Regions from separate parts of the Homo sapiens genome. Here region 1 is linked to region 2. Evidence: promoter capture Hi-C in human tissues and cell types (Jung and others, 2019). All regions are on one chromosome and are shown on one strand. The core of a region is centred on a gene start or on the middle of the fragment in contact, and the rest is flanking DNA. Distances in the headings are between cores, read along the strand shown.

Region 1 (6,027 bases), core at 707-3,206, 100 kb after region 2:
CCAGGCTCCTGCTTCTCTTCTACACACCCTTCTCTGCACCTACTCAGGGCCCTGGACTAGTTTAGTTCATCCCGTAGTCCACTCCCCTAGACCAGGTCATCTTCAAACCTTGGGAAGGAAAGGGAAGGGAAGGGAATGCTGTGATGCTTCATCCCACTCCAGGGCTGGAGAGGGAGGGGGAAGGCTGGCAAGGTGGCTGGGGACCCAGGGAACCACTTGCCTTTTTGTGTTTTCTCGCATATCCTGGATGGCTAAATGGAAAATCTGGTGCAGCAAAAGCAGTTACTCTCCTGAAAAGGTGACCAGATCTTTATGGGCTTTATTTGCCCTAAGATCATCCATCTCCTTTGCAATCTTGCTTACAAAGTTTCCGGTGGTATGAATGTTCCCTCCTGGGTGGTCCCTGAGTTCTAACTCAGCCTAGAGGGTCTCTGGTTCTATGGGTTCCATCCTTCCTCAAAGCCAGCCACAGTAAGAGGCAAGAAAGAGAAGACCTTCAACAAATCAACTTTCAGTGGCACAAAAATGACTTCGCCATAGCCCCTTTGCATCTGCATATAGAAGCTCAGAAGGAACACAATCCTTCCATTGAAAAATAACACCTCCTGAAGTCCCAGACCTGGTCTTGTATCCTCCCAACACTCCAACACTGCCATCACAAATAGGATTTTAGGTAGAAGACCTGGGTGGGGACTGTCTCCCCGTTTATCAAAACTGGCTTTTTAGCCAGTGAGGGAGTGGGAGGCCTCCTTTTTCAAGGCCTTCTCTGTGCTCTTGGGTGGGATGGAAGGACCAGCCTTTTGGTACAGAGATGATCTGATTGTTTCCCCCATTGTTGTGTCCTTGAAAGGTGGAACTGATGAGAGCAAAACTCTAGACAGCTCTGGAGGAGGTGCTTTGGTTGTGAGAGGAGGCTGAATCTGAATAGGTGCTCTAGTTCTTATTCATTTCATCCCTGTAGAAGAAAGCACATGCTTCCAGCTTTCAAGAGAATGAAGCAGTGCAGTGGCTGGATCCATATGGTGTCACTGGGATTCGAGTTCATTGGAGACAAAGCTTGATGACTTCCTGGGGACAGACTTTGTTCATAAGTAGTGAAAGCCTGTTTTTTTTCTGGCCCCTTGGGGTGTCACACAGAAGCAATACTGTGCTGCTCACTAATGCTCTATGTCCCCATCATCCTGTGCTGGATGCCCTTTCATGGTTGGGGGAGAGTATGGTGGCTGCACCAACACCAGCAAAGGGTATGATAAGAAAGTGCCAGGTGGTGCCTCCAGGCTGGTTATCAGCTGGACTGCAAGAAAGTGCCAGGTGGTGCCTCCAGGCTGGTTATCAGCTGGACTGCCTTTCTGCACAGACTCCAGGTCTTTGTGAGCCCCAGGCAAATGCCCTATCCTGAGACTCTGGGTGGATCTCGGGCTTTTTCTGTGACCCTTCCAGCTCACCTGGTGCTGGGTGGGTGAAGTAAACAACCTCAGTGATTTGTCTGCACCCATGTTCTCATTGGCCAGAACCATTCTGAGGTCCATGAATCATATCGCATTCAGTTCTGTCAGGAGAAAGGCCTGGTTGTAAAACTTTAGGGAACCAAGGCTCCCTAAGAAATTGTCAAGACTACAGCGTTAACAAAGATGAAGTGGCTTTGCAATGGGAACAGCCCAGCCCCTCAAACTTTTGATCCATTTGTTACACATGCATCTCTGAGCTAACCGCTAAATGCTCCCCATCACTCCCCACAATCCCCAGTGTCCCAGCCCAAGGTGAAGAGAGGCATGAGCGGGCCATTACTGCACATCTGGGCCCAGCAAACTCTGAGGAATCCAGATTGGAATCCCAGGAAGGATCTTATTCAGTAGTTGACCACAGAATAGCCGAGTGGGAAGAATGTGACTTTGGGAGTCCCACGCATCTGCCTTGAATCCAAGCTCTGCTGCTTGCTAGCTGGTGACCTAGTTCTGGGCCTCAGGGTATGACAATGGGGGCTTATGTTCAGTGACCTGCAGGGTCCCTCCCTCTTGAAAGCTCGGGGGTTCTGCCCCGAGGAGTAGGAACTGACCTATTTTACTGGCATGTACTGAGTGTTTTCCAAAACAAAGTCTGGTTACTAATTACCTGACCTACATTCCCTGTGATTGCAATGGCAGGTGGCATATCTGCACATTTCTAAGGAGGAACTGGAAAGGAGCTAATAGGAAGCACTTAGAGGCGAGGCCCTAAGGCTCGTATTGGTTGGGCAGAATTCTGAAATTCTGATTGATGCTATTCTCCATCAACGAAAAGGGGATTTTGGAAGATCCCCTTAGTCTTTAAACACAGAGAAGCACTGTCCTAATATTTTCCTGGTTATAAAAAATAATATGAGCTTATTCTATATATTACATTGCAGGCATGATGGCTCAGGAAGCCTACTGCTGCCTTCCCCCTGCTTCCTCAGCCCCCAGGATAATGTGGTTAACCGTTTGGCTTATATTCTTGTGGGTATTTTCTCCATAGAAACAAACATATAAATCTATTATCTTATGAAGATGAGATCACAGTACACATGCTGATTTGCAGGTTGCTTTTTATACTTAACTGTGTATTTTGGACATTTGTCCATGTCTGTACATGTGATCTATTTTATTCCTTTTAATAAGACATCTTAATGCATTGGGAAATCTAGAAAAGGGAAGAAACCATGAAGCATATAAAGCTTTTCTTTCATTTTAAATATTATTTCTGTATTGGGAAGAGCAGAACATCTGAAATTGTTTTCAAATACTTTAAATAGCATTTACATTTTAAAAATCACAGGAATGATAGTTGTACTGTTGTAGAAAATCAGTGAATACATGGGAAAGACTCAGTATGCCATTCTGACCATTCCTTATTATTATGTCCATTTTGTCTTCAATTCAACTATTCAGATAATAAAAATCTTTCTGTGGTAGGAAAAATACTGGCCCCCAAAGATGTTCATGCCCCAGTCTCACGAAGCTGTGAATGTTACCTTACATGGCAAGTGGGACTCTGCCGATATGATTGAATGAAGGATTTTGAGATGGGTAAATTATTCTGGATTATCTGAATGGGCCCCAGGTAATCACAGAGGCCCTTGTGAGTGAAAGAGGGAGGCAGGAGAGTTGATGACACCCTGTGGCTTTGAAGATGAGGAAAGGGGTCACCAGCCAAGGCCAGTGGGCAGCATCTGGAAGCTGGAAAAGGCAGGAAGCTGTTTCTCCCCTAGAGCCTCCAAAAGGGACGCAGCCCTTCTGACACCGTGATTTTAGCCCAGTAAGACCTATTTTGCACTTTTCATCTCCAGAACTGTGGGATAATAAATTTGTATGGTTTTAAGCCTCTGAATTTGTAGTAATTTGTTATAGCAGCCGTAGGAAACAAGCCCACCTTCATTCATTTGTTTGGCATGCTTACAAATGCTGCGTCTGAAACCGTGAAACCACGACACATCTTGTGATTCTGGGTGACCGGGAACTAACTAACCCAGTTCTCCATATAACATGGTCCTCTGGGGGAACCAAAGTTGGTGTGTGGAAATCTTTTTAGGTTATTGAAATCAAAAAGAAAAACGACAGGAAAAGCTATTAACTTCCAGGAGGATGTACACAGACCCTGGGAGCCCATGGACTCAAGGATTTAAAGTGCCAGAAAGGAGGTAGACTACATATACTCACCCTACTTAATGGATGAATCATGGAGGCTCTGTGAGGTTACTTGTCCAAGGTCACAGGATGAGCTAGGGCCTGAGCAAAAGATGGTCTTCTCTCTCCAGTTCTGTGATGGTTCCTTTGATCTTTAACGGGAACATGCTGGGGCTTGCCACAGGGCCATCAGCATCTTCTGACAGCCATCCACTCTCTGCCAGGCTTCCACTGAGGGGTGGCAGGCAGAAGATGGGTGGGCCCAGATTTGCCCATCCTGGGGGGACTTCCTTTGCAACCTGCTTGCTCCTCATCCACCTCAGCTGGCAGCCTGCCAAGCTCCCTGCTCAGAATCACCAGTGTGGGGTTTGGTACCCCAATCTTGGTCCCTTGTGGTTCTAGATAACAGAGCAATAACCCAGGCAGTCTCCCTGGGTGGCCACGATTTGTGTTTGGTTTGAATTTCCCAATGCCCTCCTTTGAAGGGTCAGAGCAGGGAGAGCTTGGCAGCTGCATCCTCAGCTGTGACGTGCACAGAGAGCTTCCCAACTTTTCATTTGACCACTGGAACCTCAGAAGTGACAGTTGAGTAAGAAAAGTAGGTCACTTGGTACAAAGTGGGGGATTTATTCCTAGATCTCCTTGGACCAGGAAAGTGATCATAGGCTCTTGGCACCTCAGAGGTCAATGCATAATAAACAAGGGCAGTTGTGTAACTTTTACTTAATAAATCACTGAGCACTGATTAGGTGGGCTCTGGTTGGGGCTGTTCATACTCTCAAAGAAGCCCAATTCAGCAACAAAATCTGGAGACAGAAGCCACGTTGATCAGGCACCTTCTGTCTAGGCACTTCACAGGCAGTGTTGCTAGGGTTAGGTACCTGGTATCCATCACCCCTGCTCCGCGCAGGGTTCTAATAGATGGAGTCAACACAAGGCTAACTGAAGAGCAAACTGTCTTCTATAGCATTCAACTCCCAAGTACAGGGCTCTTTTGTCAAATCAGTTTGGAGAAGATCTTGCCTGACTGCTAGCTGTCACTCAAATCTCTTTCCCCTCCTCTTAGATAACAGCTGGACTAATTTTCCAGACTCCTTCACAGTGAGGTGTGGCTGTGTGTGGTAGATGTGCAGGTATGCCTCCAGATGGGCCTTGCTGCAGCAAGTGCAGTCAGTAGACAGTCTCCTGCCATCACCTCCGTCAGGGCCGGCCTCAGCTACAGAGCCTCATCCACTTTGCCTAATGTCACACCCTTCCAGGAGCCTCCTACCTCTGGGGACCACTTGAGGCGCGGCTATTTTGGCTCAATAAAGGACACCACCAATGGGTAACATCCACTGTAGAGGTCCCCACTGGGTTGGCCGTTGGTTTGTCAGGACTGTGTCACGGCTTGACTTCTCCTTCTGCCCAATTCTGTTTCTTCTCCCTTTCCATTCACAAGTATTGACTCCTAATACTTGGAGTGAATCCATCTTGCTTTCTCCTTCAGCCCGCTGAATATGGACTCCAACGGTGCCCTAGGGGATGGTGGAGCCACCAGATGGAAGGAGCCTGGTGATCCCGAGAAGGAGAGATGCCTCGCTGACCTGAACATCTTTCCAGAACTGTTAAGTGAGTTAGAAATGAACTTCTACTATACAAAGCCGCTGAAATTTGGGCATCTGTTACTTTAGTTGGCCTACTGAAGCTTCTCTCCTCTCCTCACTTACCTCTCCAGATGCAATGGCAGGTCTTTCGGGGTGGGGGTGGGGCACTGATCAGAACTGCCTGGAAGCTCAAGTACCCACTATACCTAGGCTCAGGCAGGCCAGAGATTCCCAGAGAACGAGAGAGAAGAACAAGGCTTGAAGTGCCTTTTCTGTGCAGAAATCCATACTTTATCAAAATGTGGCCAATTGCTACCAGGCTCTCCTCAATAAAGAAGCAACTGCCCTCCCTTGGGGGCAGCAGTCAGAGTGGAGAGAAAATAAGTTCTCATTCTAACTCTCCTTGAGGGAGAGGAAAATCAAAGTCCTGTGTTTTCTGTAGGAAGGTTGGTATGCAGGAAGAGGAGCCATTTACCCAAGAATGGGAAAATTCAATTCTTTCAACAATTTATAAAGAGGTACATAATGTGGATGGATAGATGGTATATATCAGTAGATAGATTATACATAGGTAATAGAGATGGTAGACAGATAAGGATGATAGAGACAGATACATGATAGGTTGATATGTAGAGAGATGATAGGTTGGTAGCTGGATAGGTAAGTAGGTAGGAAATCGAGGCTCAGAGATATTGAGGTAGGTTCTTATGGTCATATAACTAGTATGTGACAGAGGAGGATTCAACTTTAGGTCTAGTTTGACTCAGAAGTGGGATTCAGGCTGGGCGTGGTGGCTCACC
Region 2 (6,172 bases), core at 3,361-5,860:
TTTTCCTCACCTCACCTGAGATACCTACATGTTTCAGGCGGCATCCTGCACTTTCTTTTCTTTTCTTTTTTTTTTTTTTTGAGAGGGAGTCTCACTCTGTCACCCAGGCTGGAGTGCAGTGGCGCGATCTCGGTTCACTGCAACCTCCGCCTCCTGGGTTCAAGTGATTCTCATGCCTCAGCCTCCCGAGTAGCTGGGATTACAGGTGCCCAGCACCACTCCCAGCTAATTTTTTTATTTTTTAGTAGAGAAGGGGTTTGACTATGTTGGCCAGGCTGGTCTTGAACTGCTGACCTCAAATGATCCACCCACGTTGGCCTCCCAAGTGCTGGGATTACAGGTGTGAGCCACCTCACCCAGGCCTGCACTTTCTTTAACCCCTTATTTTGCTAACACTTATGCTTTTCCACCACACCTAGACCATTGTCTGCTCTTACTGGACTATTTTACAAATGGGGTTTGAGGTAAAAACTAAAAAATTTCCAGTAGTGAAAATTATACTTGAAAATCCCTTTAGTGCAAACGGAATGGCTGGTAGCATAGTCTACTTGGCAACAAGCAGATTTGTTAGTCCTTTCACTTCCCCACTTGCCTCTGGGAATATGCCCTTTGAGTGGAACGGTGGGTGGCTGGCACCGTTTCAATGGTGATCTTATTTGCTCTCTTATTTGCTGAGCCACAAAGTTGTATTCTAGTCATCTAAATGCCCTAAAGATGATAGCACATCATATTTAAGTTCTTCCCATTTTCCTGGCCTTCCCAATTCCCGCTACCTCCTTGAAGCTTCCACAGATATTCCACAGCGAGCCTTCTCCTTTCGGGATCTCTTTGGCCTTCGGAGCTGCTTTTTGGTCTTGGTAGCTACCAGTGTGGTGCTTGTCTTTTTCAGAGCAACTCACATACTAGGAGCGTGGATTCTAGAGGGGCTTGAAACCTGATCCTGTCACCTACTAGCTGTGTGATCTTGGACAATTGGCACCTTCGATGTCTTCACGTTCCTCATCTGTGAAATGGGTTTCTACCTCACCGGATTCTTATAAAGATTACATGAGTTAATATTTCTAAGTGCTTAAAACAGTGCCGAGCCCAAAGTAAGCAGTATATGTTTTTCAGGTTGTATCCTTTTACTTAATATTGGAGTTCCTGTTGAATGTAGCTAAAGAAGGAAGAAGAAAATAGTGTACAAGAGCGCTTACTATTAACTGAGACAAATGAATTGGCACCTTTTTTGTTCTCCAAAATGCAAAACCTGCTCCTTTTAATAATAATTAAAAAAAAAAAAAACCAGTTCGCAACTTCCCTGACTCTTTCACTGAAACTCCGTAAGTGATCTTCAAGATCACTTACGAGGTTTCTCTCAGTTACCACTAACTGTGGTTAAAGTACTGACATTTTTATATTAATAACTATGAGGCTGAATTCTCAAGTACTTTCTTGATTAGGCACTGAAAAAAGACAAGCTTGCAGAAAATGAGTTGGCAACTTGGCAACCCCCCAGGGTGTTTTTCCAAAGGCAGCTCTCAGGCAACGTGTTGAGTGAATGCTGTAAGAGACCCACTTGTGTAAGCCCCACAATTATCAGCTCCTTGCTTAGTAGCTTCTTAAAATGTCTGCTGGGTATTCTATGAATTTGTTTTTCTGTAATAATGATTGTAACCTCCTCAAGGTCAAAGGATTATGACTGCTCAGACTTTGTAACCCCTGGCATGGAGCTGGAACTACTGCATAGCTCAATAATTTCCTGCTGATAGATTGATTGTTAAGATGGGTAGGACCAAGCAATGTTTAGATGCTGCCAAACCACAGTGGGAGAAATCCTACGAATAATAGTACAACTCCCCACGATTCCTTTCTACTCTGTCTTCATTGGTGCAACCTACAACTAAGAACACTGATTCCATCCTAGTTTCTCTCATCCAATAATGAAGGGGAGCAAAAGCTGGGAAGGAGACAGAAGTGAAAAGCCTGGATCATCCAATTTAGAGGTTTATTGAGTGAGTGTTGAGTCCTTTTAGGAGAAAGCATGGTCTCCCTGAATCTTCCATTTGAAGGAGCTGAAAGGGAGAGTGACTTCTATGGCATTAGTCAACACCAGGGGGCAGGAGAGAAAGCTGTATGAATGGAACAGGCTGAAAGGGTGGTGTGAGTAAATGGCACAAGCATGTGAAAATTTCCACCACGGTTCTTGGCACCTAGCAGTACGCTATATGTGTTAGTTGAATCCCAGAGTTTTAACGCCCTTGAAAAATTATTTCTTAATTAGGTCGTGTATGTTCATTGTAGAAAAATTAAGAAAAACAACAGAGCAGCAAAACAACGAAGACATTTTTAATCACTCATAATCTCACCATTCCAAAATGAACTGTTCACATTTCTGTAGAGCACATTCTGTTTTCTATGCATGGATACCTTTCCCTCAAAATGCGATCACCATAAATTGTTATTCATGTTTCTCCATAGTTTTAACTGGTAATATTTACTATTTAGCTCAACATATAATCATGGGTAGAGGAAAAGAATACCCAGGGTTCTAGTTTTGGCTCAGACCTAGCCAGCCCCTGGCAAGCAGCTTGACCTGTCTAAGCTTTCAGTTCCTCATCTGTGAAATAAAGAGTTTGATGCCTATCACCTCCTACCTCCATAATTCTAACCATTGATGGGTCATTAAAATAAGACAATATGGTGCAGCGGTTATTGCTCTGGTATCAGCCAGGCTCTAATCCCTGCTCTACCTGTGAGAACCTGGGCAGGTTTTTTTTTTGTTTTTTGTTTTCGAGATAGAGTCTCGCTCTGTTGCCCAGGCTGGAGTGCAGTGGTGCAATCTCAGCTCACTGCAACCTCCGCCTCCCGGGTTCAAGCGATTCTCCTGCCTCAGCCTCCAGAGTAGCTGAGAGTACAGGTGTGCACCACCATGCCCGGCTAATTTTTGTATTTTTAGTAGAGATAGGGTTTCACCATGTTGGCCAGGCTGGTCTTGAACTCCTGGCCTCAAGTGATCCACTGGGCAGATTTCCTGACCATTCAGTGTCTCCGTTTTCTTTTCTCTAAAATGGGATTAATAATTGGACATATCACATAGGGTTGTTGTGAGGATTGAATTGATAGCACATAGTGTTTGGCACAGAGTAAAGGCTCAACAAGCAGCAGCTATTCTCAATATTTTAGCTCAGGCACCAGGCGCCTTGAGGTGATAGAGTAAAAACTCTAGCTGAGAGATCAAGTAGAAACTTGGGAACTAGCCCGGGTGGAACACAGGCACTGGGCATCGTGCTGAGTCTGTTCATTGGCACCATCTTACTTCATCTTCAGAACGTTACTATCTCTGTTTTACACATGAGGAAACTGAGGTTAGAACTTGCCTAGATTCGTGTAGCTAGTAAGTGTCAATCCAAAGACCTTCCAGCTAGTTTTGGTTGAGCTAAAGGGGCTAGAAGACCTGCCATTAGTTAGATATTTCATTTCAAAAATAAAACCCAGGCATGAAGTCCCTTTCCCAGTGATATTCAGTGTGATTTTTTTCTTCACTCTAATAATTTTAACAATTCCACTGTTTGACAGTTGTTTAAAAGACATAGGAATTTTTGTATATTTTAATTGACTAATGGATAGCTCAATTAGGGGAGCAAAACTAGGATGTGGGTTTTATAAAAATAATTTAGACTTGACTTAGACATTTAATTTTACAGTTGTAAATGATGGTCTAAAAATTCTTCAAACTAATCAAAATAATGAAACTTCAGCGAAAGTGAGTGGCTCAGAAGGCCCATGAAACATACGGCGTGATTTTTTAAATTTTATTTTAACATTTTGATTTCCACACCACTGCCAAAGGACGTCAGAATTGAGTAAGGGGTTTGGGTTGACTGCTGCCTCTTGACCGGCTGTATGTGTGAAAAGGGTCATTTCACTTCCGGCTTTAGTGTTCCCCGCAGGGGAGAAAATTGAAGAATAGACAGAAATACGAAGTGTCTTTTAATTAAATGCCACCTTGGTGTTTTATGGGGCTCGTATGCTTTCCTAACAACATTTGTTAGATAAGTTGGTAATTCCCGGCAGCTGTCTACTGTGTGGTGCATCTGTGAACTCATACTAATCGAAAAGCATGCAGCCAGTTTGGGATCGCGCAGGCTAAGGTGAGGGAGAAATGCGGATACACCGGGTAATGAACGATATAAACATTTCAAATGCGATACACATTCGGTTTGAGCCACATCTTCTGTGTGCAGATTCACCCGCAGTGACCCACAAAGCTATTCCCAAGTAACAGCCGCCCCAAGCCTGAGGCACTGGCGCCCCGCCTGGGCGAGGCTGGCTGCGCTCTCTCTTGGCCGGCGCCCGCTGCATGCGGTACGTGCCTGCCCGGCCCCTAGCCCAGGGTTCCCGTTACGCGGCTGGTTCCAGCTGGCCGCGGAGTCCCAGAACCTCCCCGCGATGCCCAGATAGCTCTCTGCACGTCTCGCCCCGGGGCGATCACGTTGCCGGGGCGAGGGCTGGCGCCCCAGCTGGGCGCTGGTTGGTCGCGCCCTGGGGCTCGAGGCCCGGCGATTGGTCCCAGGGATCGGGTCACGTGCTTGGGAGCAGATAAGCGGCCTCTAGGCGCCGGGCCCTCAGTCTCTCCCAGCGACCGCCGCGGGGGCAAGGCCTGGAGCTGTGGTTCGAATTTGTGCAGGCAGCGGGTGCTGGCTTTTAGGGTCCGCCGCCTCTCTGCCTAATGAGCTGCACCAGGTAGGTTCGCTGCAACTCTGCGCGCTAGGAACACAGGGGAACGCGCAGCTGTGGGGAAGTTGGGGGGCGTTTCAGTTCTATCATCTCTGGAAATGGACACCCCAGGGGGAGGACAAGTGGACTGACTGCGTAGTTGAATCTGGCAACCGAGAGGCCTTGGAGGTGTAGAAATTTGGCTCTATTTCTTAAGCAGAGCCTATTTTAGTAATCAGCATCTTAAAGCAGAAATTATCTTAACGTGAATCAGCTTGAGTTAGGATTTTCTCATGGATGCGGCTGTTCTTTTGGTCCTGCACAAATGTCCCAAAGACTCGGGCAGCTGAAGTGGTGAGAACAGCACTCTGACATTGCTGGTTAGGTGGTTTAGCTTGGAGGAAAAAAATTACAGGACGACGTTTGCATTCATTCGTCCTTCTTATCACAGTTTGCCATAGCAAAATCTCAAGAGTTTGAGCAAACGATTACTTTTAACTCTTGTCCAGGACTTAAAGTTCCAAGGAAATCACCCAAACTAAAACTGTCTTTCTATAAATGCAAAAAGTAAAAAAAAAAAAACAAAAAAACCAAAAAAAACCTCCCATAAAACTACTTTAAATAGCTTCTCCAGACATAGCTTAGCAGAAGACTTCTCTAAAAATCCTGCCTATTAACTATTATTAGACCCACAAATATAGCTTTAGCTTTCATTTGTTTGTTCTAAGTTTGCAGATCTCCCAGAAAAACCCCAGAGCTAACACAGTAAATTCTGCGAGTGTTATTACACACTTTTGTGATAATGACCACTTGCATACATGTTTAGAGCTGCTGTGAGGAGAGTTACTAAAGCCAGACTGAGAAATGTCGTGTACAGTATACACACACCTCTTACTTGTAAGGCTAAGATAGGGAAAAAAATCTTAATACCATAAGCTTGGAAATATATGATGAGGGCTAAAGGTCAGAGAAAAGTCTTCTTTATAGATGCTTCTTGGTTTAATATTGCTGAGCATAGTCATGTTTAAAACTTTAAATGGTTTTATTGTCTTTCTACTTATAAATGTCTATTAGAAAATGCCAAAAAAGAACAAAAACGAAAATAGATAATCTATAATCCTATCACCCAGAAATAATAATTATTAAATTATTAGGAAAGGTGTATTTCCTATAGAGTTTTTCAATATTTATAAGTTTGTATATATAAAATGTATATTTTAAAACACTCCAACTTTCAGGTAATCAGTTTTTCCACTTAAATGTGGACTTGTCATGGGCATCTCTTTAGGTGAATTATCAATTATATAGTTTTTAAGTGCATATGAATTGTTGGCTTGTATTTCAGTGGTTATTTGTGAAAAATAAGAGCATGATAATCAAAGTGCAAAGATGATTCTTTGACTTCTTCTCTAGCCTTCTCACTCTCAAAACTGTTGCATGTTATTTTTTTTTTTTCAAGTGAATTACCTTACCA

What was found. Contacts are between HindIII fragments. The study calls those that stand out against the background at their distance.
Region 1: a contact is called between a fragment that was not itself captured here and the fragment with the promoter of PPP1R3C in region 2, in 3 of the 25 tissues and cell types used here (IMR-90 fibroblasts, aorta and bladder).

What each region holds. Positions count from the first base shown.
Region 1 is chr10:91,524,253-91,530,279 of GRCh38, reverse strand. It overlaps HECTD2-AS1 (HECTD2 antisense RNA 1), which reads left to right. Exons shown (of 5, transcript NR_024467.1): 3 at 5,131-5,252. Among named protein-coding and RNA genes, the nearest start is that of HECTD2-AS1, 84 kb to the left of the region's middle. The HindIII fragment of the contact is 4,109 bases long and covers 1-4,010 here.
Region 2 is chr10:91,631,509-91,637,680 of GRCh38, reverse strand. PPP1R3C (protein phosphatase 1 regulatory subunit 3C) reads left to right here and starts at 4,610. Exons shown (of 2, transcript NM_005398.7): 1 at 4,610-4,725. The coding sequence starts at 4,712. RefSeq lists enhancers at 3,978-4,477, 4,478-4,979 and a silencer at 4,504-4,643. The HindIII fragment of the contact is 3,936 bases long and covers 2,023-5,958 here.